Linked DNA regions of Homo sapiens: region 1 is linked to region 2. Evidence: promoter capture Hi-C in human tissues and cell types (Jung and others, 2019). All regions are on one chromosome and are shown on one strand. Each heading gives the region's core, a stretch centred on a gene start or on the middle of the fragment in contact. The rest is flanking DNA. Distances are from core to core; before and after follow the strand shown. Region 1 holds the start of DCLRE1C (DNA cross-link repair 1C). Region 2 holds the start of OPTN (optineurin).

Region 1 (6,595 bases), core at 1,525-4,024, 1.9 Mb after region 2:
GAAGGCTGCAGTGAGCCGAGATCGCACCACTGCACTCCAGCCTGGGTGACAGAGCAAAACCCTGTCTCAAAAAAAAAAAAAAAAAAAAAAAAAAAAAAAAGGAAGTGATGTGGATGGGTTTCCATGCATTTTTTCTAGCAAAAGAGTCCATACAGTTTCTCATGTTTGAGCTGCTATCACAAGATACCATAGATACCATAGTTGGCCTTCACACCAGCGCTGTAAGGAAAGGTAGTGTTTTGGTTGCCTTCAACACCAAAAAGGTATTTCTCACAGTTCAGGAAGCTGGGAAGATCAAGATGCGGGGCGATTTGGTTTCTGGAGAGGGCACTTTTCCTAACTTACAGACAGCCGCCTTCTCACTATGCACTCACATGGCTTTCCTAGGCCCCGCATGAGGACAGAGCGCCCTCTCTCTTCCTTCTCTTGTAAGGAAACTAATCCTATCAGAGTAGGACACCACGGTAGGACCCCACTTAAACTTATTTTCCTCCTAAAAGCCCCAGCCCCAAATACAGTCGCTTTGGGGGTTAGGGCTTCAACATATGAATTTTGTGGAGATAGTCCATATCATAATCAAAGAAGCCTGTGTCCCAAAAAGGTGAAAAGCCAACAGAAGGCAATGTGAGAAACCTCCAAAAGCAGAAGTTGTGTTTTCACCCTTGATGAGTTTATGTCCTGGTTGACTAAGCAGATCCACATGTGGTCAGAGAACAGAAAAAGTTGTTATAGACTGTTCAACAGTAGGGAAGAGTCCATTTCTGGCTTAATGCACAAACTTATGATGATTTCAAATTCCTTTAGATTTATTATTTCTCCAAACTCAGCCATCCTAAACACGAAGTGCAAGTTTCGGAAGTATACTTTAATCCTGGCTAGCCCATTTTGAGTTCAGAGACTCCAGTGCGGCTCTACACAAAAAGTAAAAATAGGCATATCCTCGTCCAGCAGTGGATTCTCAATGAAAAACAAAACCAGAAATGTGTCAGGCACAGCGGCTCACACCTGTAATCCTAACACTTTGGGAGGCTGAGGTGGGTGGATCTACCTGAGGCCAGGAGTTCGAGACCAGCCTGGCCAACATGGTGAAACATCATCTCTACTAAAAACACAAAAATTACCTGGGTGTGGTGGTGCGTGCCTGTAACTCCAGCTACTTGGGAGGCTGAGGCACGAGAATCGCTTGAACCCAGGAGGCGGAGGTTGCAGTGAACAGAGATCACGCCACTGCACTCCAGCCTGGTGATGGAGACTCCACCTCAAAATAATAATAAAAATACAAACATTAGCTAGGCATGGTGGCTGACTCCTGTAGTCCCAACTACTTGAGCAGAGAGCATGTGCCACACTGTACTCCAGCCTGGGCGACAAAGGGAGACCCTGTCTCCAAAAAAAAGAAAAAGAAGAAGGAGATGCTCAAAGACGTGCACGATGCGAATACGGCAACGCACGAGAAGAGGTCCAGATTTTCCCATTAAAGAGAAATCACTGGTGGCTTTGTGGAAAAAAAAAGCAGAGACATTTCGCAGAAGCAGTAACTTCAACGATTTATAGTCCAAGTGATTGATTCCACACACAAAACAACATAGCTGGCCTTCACACCAACCCTGTGAGGAAAGGCTGTGTTTGGATACCTGTAATTTACTTTAAAATACTTTCCTACTGCGCAGGTACAGATAGGTTTGTTACGCTGATTGACTCCACAGGGTAGTGGGAGCTTCCTGCTCCAGCACGCTGCAAGGCCACACAGCAGGAGGCAGCAACTCCAGTGATTCCGTTTATCATTTTCTCCAATTAACACTAATGGCTGGGCGAATTAGCACAATGAGCATTAAAACTGTTTTCCCTGGTAAAAGTTAGTGACTTGTTAGCACAATAGAAGTGAAAATGAACAATGGTTGTCAAGTTAGCGGTATTTAAACTCTGGAACTTAGCTCCAATCTCTGCTTGGAGCATCAGCGACACTCTAACCTTAATCCCTAAATCGGCCCAGCTGTGAAAGGATCCAGCTGTGAAATCATAGTAGCTTTTCAGGTTGCCTGATACCATCTAGAAGGGAAACATCCCTCCAACCTAAACTAGAACGAAACTTTCATATTGGATACGGACAGAACACCCAAAGGCCAAGGAGCTTGCACTTCGTGGAGCTCTTAGGCGGGCTGTTCCACAGTTGTGTGTGTGTCTGAGTCTCCTGCTTGCTGACCAATGTTTGAGGGTGTGGTCAAATGGATCTGAAACTTGTTTTCTTCATACATGGTAGCGAGGCTCTGAGGGAAGTACTAACCCTCGCCAATCTCTGATCATCGGCCACCAGCAAAGCTACCAAGAGAAACTACTAGCAGTGCTTGACCAAGCCGGCCCGGGGCGCAACTGGCAGGCGCCGTTACGCCGCGTTGACCACATCCGAAAATAGATGAAGCCTTTGAGAGGCTGAAGAGCCCGACTGGGACAAGGCGTGTGCTGGCCGCCCCCTCGCTGGCTTCCCACAGGCTGCAGCTCCTTGCTCCAGGGCCGGCCCCCTCCTGTCCTCTCTCCAGCCCCCAGCGCCCCGGGAGCGGGCGACGCGCAGCCCTCACTCACCTTTGTGGCAGTGGGACAGGAAGTAGGCGCGGGCCCTCAGGTTCTCCCTATCGAAGCGGTCTATGGAGATAGTTGGATACTCGGCCATCTGCCCCTCGAAAGAACTCATAGCGCCGCCGATCCCAGAGTCCGGGACCCCAAAACCGCAGCTGAAGCCAAGGCCAGCCCTGACCGCGCCGCCACTTCCGGGAAGCCGCGCGCTGCCTCGCCATTGGGCGGCCGAACGCAGCCACGTCCAATCAGAGGAGTCCGGAGACCGGGGGCAAAGTCAAGGAGCATCCGGTCGGGTTCTAGGCGCCCGCTGCTTGGGTTTAAATCACCCGCGCTTCGCTGCACGCGATGGGCCCTGAGCCCTGCCCAGTGCAAGGCTCATTCCCGCCCAACAAACACAGGTGTTGCTCTGGTAAGGCGTTGCCCATGTCTGTGGAGGTGCAGTCGCGGGAAGGGAAATCGAAACTCCCAGAGCAGGTGGCCCCAGCCGACGAGGTGAGTGGGCTGCGGAACTGCGCTTAGAAATCATTCTTCGTTCCGCTTCCTGCTTGTCTGCTGCTAGCCTGAAACCCGAGCTCAGTTCCCCGCCCTCTCTCTTCTGTTCCCAATTTCTAACCTTGTGGGATTACCGTGAGGGTTGTATGAGAAAGTTTGTATCTGACTCATGGTAGATTCAGGAACTATTAATTCCCTCTTCCGTTTATATAATCTACAAACTGAATAAATCATCTCTGCGTGATCTTGGGGCAAATAAGATCCCAATAATGCCTTCGCTGCTGGCCTCTCCCCTGGGCCCCCACCTTTTTGAGCTATACTTTTAGGAAGTTAGAATGATGTACTTAAAAAAAGAAAAATGGCAGGAAAGGTCTAAAATTTTTTAACAACCAAAGCAACTTTATGAAAAGGTTTGTTAAACCTTTTATTGTATTTCCTTTATTGTATTACAATAAACCAAATAATCACCATGACATTTATTGTGCTCCTTCCTATCAAATCTCCTTAGTATAATTAAACACAAACAACCCAGAACACTTTCGCTTTATTTTATTTATTTATTCAGTTGGGGTCTAGTTCTATCGCCCAGGCTGGAGTGCAGTGGCGTGATTTCGGCTCTCTGCAACCTCCGCCTCCCGGGTTCAGGCGATTCTCCTGCCTCAGCCTCCAGAGTAGCTGGGACTACAGGCACGCGCCGCCACGCCTGGCTCATTTTTATATTTTTAGCAGAGACGGGGTTTCACCACGTTGACCAGGCTGGTCTCGAGCTCCTGGCCTCATGCGATCCGCTCGCCTCGGCCTCCCAAAGTGCTGGGTGAGCCATTGTACCTGGCTTTCCAGGCCTCCATAACACTTGAAGTCCCACTTTGTGCACAGCACTGTGACAAACCTTCGGGTAGCATTCAATCTATCTGGCGACAACATGTTTGCAGAATATGGCAAATAAATGCTTCCACAGAGACGCAAGGTAACGTGAGAACAAATCCAGGAACAAAGATTTCTGACCAGGGAAATCAGGAATCAGAATGCCATCCCAGCCCACCTCAGTGGCTCATGCCTGTAATCCCAGCACTTTGGAGGGCTGAGGCAGGTGATCACCTGAGGTCAGGAGTTCAGGACCAGCCTGGACAACATGGTGAAACCCCATCTCTACTAAAAATACAAAAATCGGCCGGGCATGGTGGCACACATCTCCAGCTACTCGGGAGGCCGAGGCAGGAGAATCACTTGAACCTGGGAGGCGGAGGTTGCAGTGAGCCTAGATCATGCCAGTTCACTCCAGCCTGGGCAACAGAGAGAGACTCTGTCTCAAAAAAACAAAACAAAACAGAATGACATCCCTAGTGAATGTCAGCTTGTGCCTGTAGCCATGATACTCAGAGTTCTATTCAAATACAGATTTCCATGAAATCTTGAGGAGGGGGAGGAGGGGTGACATGGAAAGGTATACACAACATAATCACTAATTGAGGTAAAATATCCTGCTAGTATACTACTGGCAACACCTTTGATGGTTTGTCTTAGAACACATGGGAACAACTGCCCTGGCAGGGTTATGGAGACCTAACAACAAATTCTGCTGTGAGTCTAGTGTCCGAAGAATCTCACGGTAGAGCTCCAGGAAAGGCAGGTCAAGTTAATGCTCGTGATCTTATGTATTTGCTCACTTATTTATCTCCTCCTCTTTCCACAATGGATACAGTACAAACAAAGGGAAATAGAGTCAGGACAAAGAGAAAGACAGGATAGAAAATAGGCAAGATAGGTAAGCATAGCCCAGACCAAACCTAGTGAATCAGAAACTCTGGGAGAGTGGGGCCTGGCAGTTTGCAGCTTAACACACCTTCTAGGTGATTCTGATGGACCCTAAAGTTTGAGAACCACTGGATTCGAGTCTAAAGAACATTCAGGGCCAGTGTGGTGGCTCATGCCTATAATCCCAACACTTTGGGAGGCCGACGCAGGTGGATCACCCGAGGTCAGGAGTTCGAGACCAGCCTGACCAACATGGGGAAACCCCGTCTCTACTAAAAATAAAAAAAAAAATAGCCAGGCATGGAGTCAGGGGCCTGTAATCCCAGCTACTCAGGAGGCTGAGGCAGGAGAATTGCTTGTACCCAGGATGCGGAAATTGCACTGAGCCGAGATTGGACCATGGCACTCCAGCCTGGGCAACAAGAGCGAAACTCCATCTCGAAAGCAAAACAAAACAAAAAAACACAACACTCAAGAAGTCTGGGGCAGGAATTCAGGTAGGAAGCTGCTGCAATACTGCAGGAAATGTGATGGTGAAGCTTAATTCATTCAGCAAATCATTCACTGACCATCTACTGTGTATCAGACACTATTTTAGACACTAAAGATACAGTAGTGAGCAAAGTAGACAAAAAATGTGGCCCATCCTGGTGGCTCCTGCCTGTAATCTCAGCACTTTGGGAGGCCAAGGCAGGTGGATCACTTGAGGCCAGGAGTTAAAGACCAACATGACAAAACCCCAGCTCTACTAAAGATGCAAAAAGAATTAGCCGGGTGTGGTGGTACACCTACAATAACAACTACTTGGGAGCTGAGGCACAAGAATCACTTGAACCTGGAGGCAGAGATTGCAGTGAGCCAAGATGGCACCACTGCACTCCAGTCTAGACGACAAAAGAGACCCTGTCTCAAAAAAATAAAACTAAAAAAGCAGACAAAAATCCCTGTGGACGTGGGAGTGTACCTTCTAATGCAAGTAATTACTGTCTACCATTTATGTAGTTCCAGATGTTATCAGTGTTTTATACTCATTATTTCATCCTCACATCCTACCTGCCCATCAGATAGGTACACTTTCTGTCCTCATTTGCCAGTTGAGGATACGGAGGTTAAGTAGCTTGTCCAGGGTCATGTTGATAGTAAGTAGAGCTCAGATTTAAATCCAAGAAGGCCACCACACTTTTAGACACTGTGCTCTCTGACAACACACTGCTAGCCACCGTGCCATGCTGCCTCCACAGCATCGGAAGGGCAGTGATGAAATATACTGATTCAAAATATATCCCTTTAGCACCTACTGTGTGCTAGGCAGTGTTAGGCCAGTGTGGCTGCAGCAGAATGATCCGGGGCTACAGAGGAAGGAGGGAGGGTGTTGTGAGCAAATCTTACAGGGCTTTGCTCACCATGTATAGCCTCTGGTTTTCACTCTCCATAAGATGGGAAGCCATTGCAGGGTTGTGAGCAGAGGACTGACATAATTTGACTTAGGTTTTTTTGTTTTGTTTTCTTTGAGACGGAGTCTCCCTCTATGCCCAGGCTGGAGTGCAGTGACGCAATCTCGGCTCACTGCCACCTCCACCTCCACCTCCACCTCCTGGGTTCAAGCGATTCTCCTGCCTCAGCCTCCCGAGTAGCTGGGACTACAGGTGCACGCCACCACTCCCAGCTAGTTCTTTTGTATTTTTAGTAGAGAAAGGGTTTCACCATATTGGCCAGGCTGGTCTCGAACTCCTGACCTCGTGATCTGCCCACCTCAGCCTCCCAAAGTGCTGGG
Region 2 (7,064 bases), core at 4,515-7,014:
GGCGTGTGCCACCATGCCCAGCTAATTTTTGTTTTTTTAGTAGAGATGGGGTTTCACCATGTTGACCAGGATGGTCTTGATCTCTTGACCTCATGACCCGCCCACCTCAGCCACCCAAAGTGCTGGGATTACAGGTGTAAGCCACTGTGCCCGGCCTATTTCAAGATTTTTAAACATGAGGCAGGCCCGGCACAGAGAGTTATGTCTGTAATTCCAGCACTTTGGGAGGCCGAGGTGGAAGGATCACTTGAGGTCATGAGTTTAAGACCAGCCTGGGCAACATGGTGAAACCCTATGTCTACAAAAAATACAAAAATTAGCCAGGCATGGTGGTGCATGCCTATAGTCCCAGCTACTTGGCAGGCTGAGGTGGGAGAATTGCTTGAGCCCAGGAGTTCGAGGCTGCAGTGAGCCACGACTATGCCACTGCACTCCAGCCTGGGTGACAGAGCAAGATGCTCTGTCAAACAAACAAAAAACATGGGAGGAAGGAGAGGAAGGAGGAGCTTAGCACAGCACACACACCGTGAACAGGCTTGTCTCAAAGCAGAGCCATGGTCCCTGGGACTCTGGGTACTTGGCTGAGGCTGTAGGTTGGACCCTAATCCCAGAGCCTCATTCTGATGGAGGCTTCAACCATACACCTTGCTTCTCATACAGGGAGTTGCTTTCATGCTGGATTTCAGGGAAAGGAAAGCAACCTATTAGAGGCATAGACACGCACCTGTTTGAGTCTCTGTTTTCAGTTTCTTTGGAGTGTACACCTAGAAGTGGAATTGCTGGGTCATATCATAACTCTCTGTTTAACTTTCCAAGGAACTCATCCTCGGAATATTTGGAACCAGTGATGAACTGAATCAAACTAAAGCTGAGACAAAGTCCAGACCAAGGTCAACCATAGGGCAGATGATTCATGCAGCGACCACACCAGTGGCCTCACAGGAGCAGGGGCACACCCTTTGCTGCAGCAGTCCCCAACATTTTTGACACCAGGAACTGGTTTCATGGAAGACAATTTTTCCATGGATGGTGGTGGGTGGGGGGGTGGTTTTGGGATGAAATGGGTCCACCTCAGATCATCAGGCATTAGAGTCTCATAAGAAGCACGCAACCTAGATCCCTTGCATGTTCTGTTGACAATAGGGTTCACGCTCCTATGAAAATCTAATGCAGCTGCTGATCTGACAAGAGGCGGAGCTTAGGCCATAATGCTCACCCACCCGTTGCTCACCTCCTGCTGTTCGGTCTAGTTCCTGAGAGGCCACAGGCCAGTACTGGTTCACCACCCGGGGTTTGGGGACCCCTGCTTTATTGGACATAATTATTAGGTCGTGTTCTTTTTGGTGGTGTTTGTACAGCTCTATTGAGGTATAATCCACATGCCATAAAATTCACCCCATTTGTAAATGTATGATTCATGGCTTTCAATTACACTTAAAAAGTTGTAAAACCATCATTACAATTCAAATTTAGTATATTTCCATCATCCCCCAAAAATCCCCTCGAGTTCCTTTGCAGTTCAAAGCCACCCCCAATTTCAGGCAACTACTGGTCTGATTTCTGTCTTTTTCTACTTTCCTTTTCTGGACATTTAATGTATATGGAGTCATAGCATATGTAGTCTTTGGCATCTGGGGTAGCAAGTACGAATATTAGTCTACCACCTCAGATGCACATAAAAATATTACATATCTTTTCTTTTCTTTTCCTTCCTTCCTTCCTTCCCTCCTTCCTTTCTCTCTCTACTTCCTTCCTTCCCTCCTTCTTACCTTTCTTCCTTCTCTCTCTCTCTCTCTTTCTTTTTGGACAGAGTCTCACTCCATGGCCCAGGCTGGAGTGCAGTGGCACCATCTTGGCTCAGCGCAACCTTTGACTCCCAGGCTCAAGCAATTCTCCTGCCTCAGCCTCTCAAGTAGCTGAGATTACAGGCACGCACCACTACTGCCTGGCTAATTTTTATATTTTTAGTAGAGATAGGGTTTCACCATGTTAGCCAGGCTGGTCTTGAACTCCTGACCTCAAACGATCCTCCCAAAGTGCTGGGATTACAGGCGTGAGCCACCGCCCTGGGCCTCTTTACTTTCTTTAAACCCAGTTCTGCAGGGGTGTACGGAAACCTATTTTCGGGCACCACTGGGGTCTGGAGAGGGGAGGTCTCCTTCCCTACGGCCATGCAAAACTCCAGGAGGGCTTTTGGTACCCATTGAAGTAAGGGCCATTTATTTTTCAGCCCAGCAACATTGCCACTGATACCCTCATTATCAAATGGTTCTTCTAGGGAACAGTCTCTGCTGTTTCCAATGACAAGCCTGGGCAGCAGAATCTGCGGGAGGTTCCCAAAGTCCAGTAGGTGCATCCCAAGAGCTTGCTGTCTGTCTGGGTGCTGCAGGGACTGAGGCTTGAGTCCTTGATGCTCATAAGACCACCATCCCACTCCTCCTCCCAATCTGGGGGCGGGGGAGTCACTCCTCCCTCCAACTGTTGTGAAAGCCTCCACCCCACCCAGCTCTGGCTCTTCCTCCAGGACATCTGGGGTAGATCATGGATGTATTGAGATCAGGCTTTCTCAAAAGACAAGAAGAAAGGCTGTACTTCTAAGAGCTGTTGCCAGGAGTCCAGCCAACGCTCCTGAAGGTAGGAAGCCCAAAGGGACTCGTTGCTAACTCCAAACAGAGGAGATTGGGGTGGAAAGGGAACACAAGGAACATCAAACCCAGATTAGGATCTCACTAAAAACCTTCCCACACTGCTCTACATTTACCCACCACAAAACCACATCAACAAATCAGCTAAGAGCATGCTATTATTTCAGTTTTTTCGCTGCATTTAGATTCCATCTACCCATGGAAGTGTGCAGGAAGATGGAGTCACCAAACGGGATGATCCAGGCTAAGAAACAGAACCGGCTCTAACACAAGCAACAGCAACAAACACCATGAGCCAGGCGTTCTTCTAGGTGTTGAAGACGTATTTCCTCTTTAATCTTCTCAGCATCCTTAGGTGAGGGCTGTGGGTCCAGAGGCCTTATCTAAAATTTTTGGGTGGCTGGGCACCGTGGCTCACACATGTAATCCCAGCACTTTGGAAGGCCGAGGCAGGTGGATCACCCGAGGTCAGGAGTTCAATACCAGGCTGGTCAACATGGCGAAACCTCATCAATACGAAAAATGCAAAAATTAGCTTGGTGTGGTGGCACACGCCTGTAATCCCAGCCACTTGGGAGGCTGAGGCAGGAGAATCACTCAAACCCAGGAGGTGGAGATTGCAGTGAGCTGAGATTATGCCACTGCACTCCAGCCTGGGCAACAGAGTGAGACTCCACCTCAAAAAATAAAATAAAACCTTTGGGGCAAGCTCTGCTTTAGAGTCCAGAATTCTGGGGATTTTCAAAAGGCTATTCAATAAATGGGATTTATATCACATAACACCCTGACACTGTCTGACGCAGTTCTCCTATCAACTATTCGATTTTCCTTCACAAAACAAATTTAAAAATCACATCAAGGGATCTAAATAAAGACTGTAAATAGCTTTCCATCAGTTGGGTCTGGTCAGAAAAGAGGTTTGGTCCTTAGAACTTTCTGGATTTGGGAGTGTACTATACTCCCCATTTTACAGATAAAGGGAATGAGGAAGGGTAAGATGAAGTAACTTGGTCAAGGTCCTACAGCTAAGAAGTGGTTGTCGGGGGAGTGTGTGTGCATGTGTGTGTGCAGTGCTTCAGGGCACCCCCCACCCCGACCCCACCACTGAGAGCAAGGAATCAGGAGAAAACAACTTTGACTGCTTTCTGTACCAGAAACTCACCTCGAGCCTCCCACACCAAAGCCATGGGCAGCTTGTGGGTGACCTTCTTCTCTTGGCTCTGAGTTTCACTGATGCTCATTTTAATTCACTTTCATAGTGTTGTTTTGTTCTCGTTTTTGTTTTTGCTTGAGACAAAGTCTCCCTCTCACCCAAGCTGGAGTGCAGTGCTGCAATCACAGCTCATTGCAGCCTCTCCCTCCTGGGCTCAAGCGATCCTCCTGCCTTGACCTCCCAAAGTGCTGGGATTACAGGTGTGAGCCACCGTGCCCCACCTATAGGGTTTTAAACAGTAAAAGGAGCCTAGTGAAGTACGACTTACCGCAGGCACCCCTTACAGGCCCCGGGGGGACCCTTTTCTGCCGATCCCAGGGTACAGCTGTGACACCGTCTTTTCTGCCTGGATTATCCCAGTAGATAAACAAAAATTAGAGATCGTCATTCCATTTCTCTCTGTATATATTTTTCCAAGCCCTTTTCATGAATGATCAGTTATTTCCTGCACTGATTTTTTTTTTTTTTTTTTTTTTTTGAGACGGAGTCTCACTCTGTCACCCAGGCTGGAGTGCAGTGGCATGATCTCGGCTCGCTGCAAGCTCTGCCTCCCGGGTTCAAGCGATTCTTCTGCCTTAGCCTCCCGAGTAGCTGGGACTACAGGAGAGTACCATCATGCCCGGCTAATTTTTGTATTTTTAGTAGAGACAGGCTTTCACCATATTGGCCAGGCTGGTCTCGAACTCCGGACCTTGCGATCTGCCTGCCTTGGCCTCCCAAAGTGCTGGGATTACAGGCGTGAGCCACCGCGCCTGGCCCTCCTGCACTGATATAAAAAGAATTTTTTTAAATTCTCTATTTCTCCCCACTCCCACCCCCAGGCTCACTCCTTATAAAGCAGCCTCTAGCCTCATCTGCCCCTCCTACACCACACCAACTCGAGGGCCCGGAATTGGGTCTGGGGCAGTCGCTGACTTGCTTGCTTCTCTGCCCTGCTCTTGGGGTTAGCCTCAGGGGCAGGGTTGAGAGTCAGGCTTGGCCAGGCAGCAGGAGGTCCAGACAGCGAAGCAGAATCCTTCGGAGATACCAGGAGAGGGCGCATCTGCCTTTTTCCTGTTTCAGATTAGGTTTTGTTGTTGTTGTTTTGTTTTTTTTCTCTCCCTCTCTCCCTCCCTCCCTCTCTCCCTCCCTCTCTCCCTCTCTCCGTCCCTCCCTCTCTCTCTCTCTCCCCCTCCCTCCTTCCCTCCCTCCCATCCCTGCAGCGCTACCCGGGTACTCTGGATGCACATAGGGCGGCTCTCGCTCCTACCTTGTCATCCTGCTGTCTAATCCGGGGGCAGCTTCCCTCCTCCACACCAGCAGAGGCTATTCTTCAGCAACAAGAATAGCCGAGCCTATTCGTCCGCAACAAGAGCCCAAGAAGCATCCTGCAGGCTTTCTGCTTTTTGAGTGTATTTTAAAGCAAAAACGAGTGGAAAGCTATGTATGCTCAGTTAACTATGTCTAGATGTTAACCTTTTTTCAAAAAACACAGATGGAGGCCTCCCTCCGAGGATGCCTGGCATTCTCCTCTTTCTGTGGGCGGCAGCGACCCCCTGCGGCTCCAGCCTCCACTACGGGATCTGCGGGAAGACACGGGGAAGACGAACTCCGCACACTGCATTTGATTAATGATTTATTTTGATTAACGCCGTCACAGTGACGCCTTAGAGCAGTCCCTGTTCACCCGGGTCCCAGCCTCGACCCCGCACGGACAGCGAGGGTGGGTAGCTGGGGGCGGACGCAGGAAAGAGGAGGGGCGGGGCCTTGGTCGGGTGGGGTATGGAATGGGCAGGGTGGGGGGGATGGGCGGGGTATGGGATGGGCGGGGCCCGGGAAATTCCCCGGCGCGGGCAGGGAGCGGCTGGCTGTCAGCTGAGCCGCGCTGGGCGGGGTCGCCAGGCCGCGCATCAGCCCTAGGCACCCCAGTCCCGGCTGCCCCCTCCGCCACCGCCGCCGCCCGCCGGCAGGTTCCCTGGTCAGCGTCCCATCCCGGTCGGGAGTTCTCTCCAGGCGGCACGATGCCGAGGAAACAGTGACCCTGAGCGAAGCCAAGCCGGGCGGCAGGTGAGCCAGGGCAGGGGGCTGCAGCGGTGGGCGAGGGGGCGGCGGCTCCTTCCCGGCGGGCGCTTCCGCGGCCTGAAAACGGTACCCGCCGCCCTGCCCCGCGGCCCGGAGCCTGTCGGGGTGAGGGTGGCGAGGGGTGGGGCGGCCCTCCCGCGAGACGGCTGCCCTGGGAGGATCCCCAAGCCTCGGCGGGTCCTGACCTGGTGGGAGAGGGTGGGTAGTGAACACAGGGTGGGCCCAAGAAGGGTCCAGGGCCGGCCTCTTGGCCGCAGGTAACCCCTCTACAAGTCACCCAGAGACTTGGAGGTGACGTCCTCCCGCAGGCTGGGAAGGATTCCGCAGCCAGTTCCTCGCCATAAGGAGGTGGTTACAGACACGCCTGTGGGAGACATGGGACCACTACCCGAGCTGAATGAGGTGCCCAGGGTCGGTGGGAATCCACATAGACTGCTGTGTCTAGGAGAGTGTGTACACTCTATATAGAGAGAATATTTGATGAGGCCGAGAACCCCAAAGGAATTGTTTTTGCCATCGAAATGCATAAGCTACAGGAAGTAAACATCGCTCAAAGAAAATGAAACCCAGGTTCCGACCTGGCCTCCACCAGCAGGAAAACTGTTGTATGGAAATGTACACCAAGGAACTGTTTGTAAGGATGAAATGGAAAATGAAAGCATAGAAAAGTAAGGCAATGTGAGGACCTCAGAAGCCTTTGGATCTGGTTAGCAAGGTGCAGGCTGTGTGAACAGAAGAACCCACCTTGCTCTTTTGACCCAGGGAGAGAAGAGTTAGTGGTGCCAGGCTGCCTCCCAGGACAGGCCCAGTTTTGGGGCGGGGGCTGGAGAAGTCCCAGGGCAGACCCCAAGGCCAGGGATTGCCCTGGAGTGGACAAGGCAAGTTTAAATGTGACCTGTAGACAGAGGACGATCATTGATTTAAGTCCTGGCATAATTCATCTGTTTTTCCACTGGGCCAATTTTAGGCGTTCTTTATATATTACGTACAACACAATAAAAGTAACAGCTTCTTTTTTTATAAACTAACCTTTAGGTTGCATATTATGCTAGGAATATAACTAACCTAACCTCCACCCCCCCACCCCCCCACCCACCCCCGGAAAACCAAACTTTATTCTCGAGGGCAACTGGACACTGTATTAT

The links. Contacts are between HindIII fragments. The study calls those that stand out against the background at their distance.
Region 1: the fragment with the promoter of DCLRE1C here is called in contact with the fragment with the promoter of OPTN in region 2 in 1 of the 25 tissues and cell types used here (aorta).

What each region holds. Positions count from the first base shown.
Region 1 is chr10:14,951,322-14,957,916 of GRCh38, forward strand. It overlaps DCLRE1C (DNA cross-link repair 1C), which reads right to left and starts at 2,775. Exons shown (of 14, transcript NM_001033855.3): 1 at 2,581-2,775. The coding sequence starts at 2,689. It also overlaps a transcript of MEIG1 not described here. RefSeq lists enhancers at 1,412-2,140, 2,141-2,868 and a silencer at 2,887-2,966. The HindIII fragment of the contact is 23,477 bases long and covers 1-6,595 here.
Region 2 is chr10:13,094,399-13,101,462 of GRCh38, forward strand. It overlaps OPTN (optineurin), which reads left to right and starts at 5,765. Exons shown (of 15, transcript NM_001008212.2): 1 at 5,765-5,904. It also overlaps a transcript of CCDC3 not described here. RefSeq lists silencers at 5,041-5,100, 5,571-6,140 and an enhancer at 6,421-6,550. The HindIII fragment of the contact is 16,289 bases long and covers 1-7,064 here.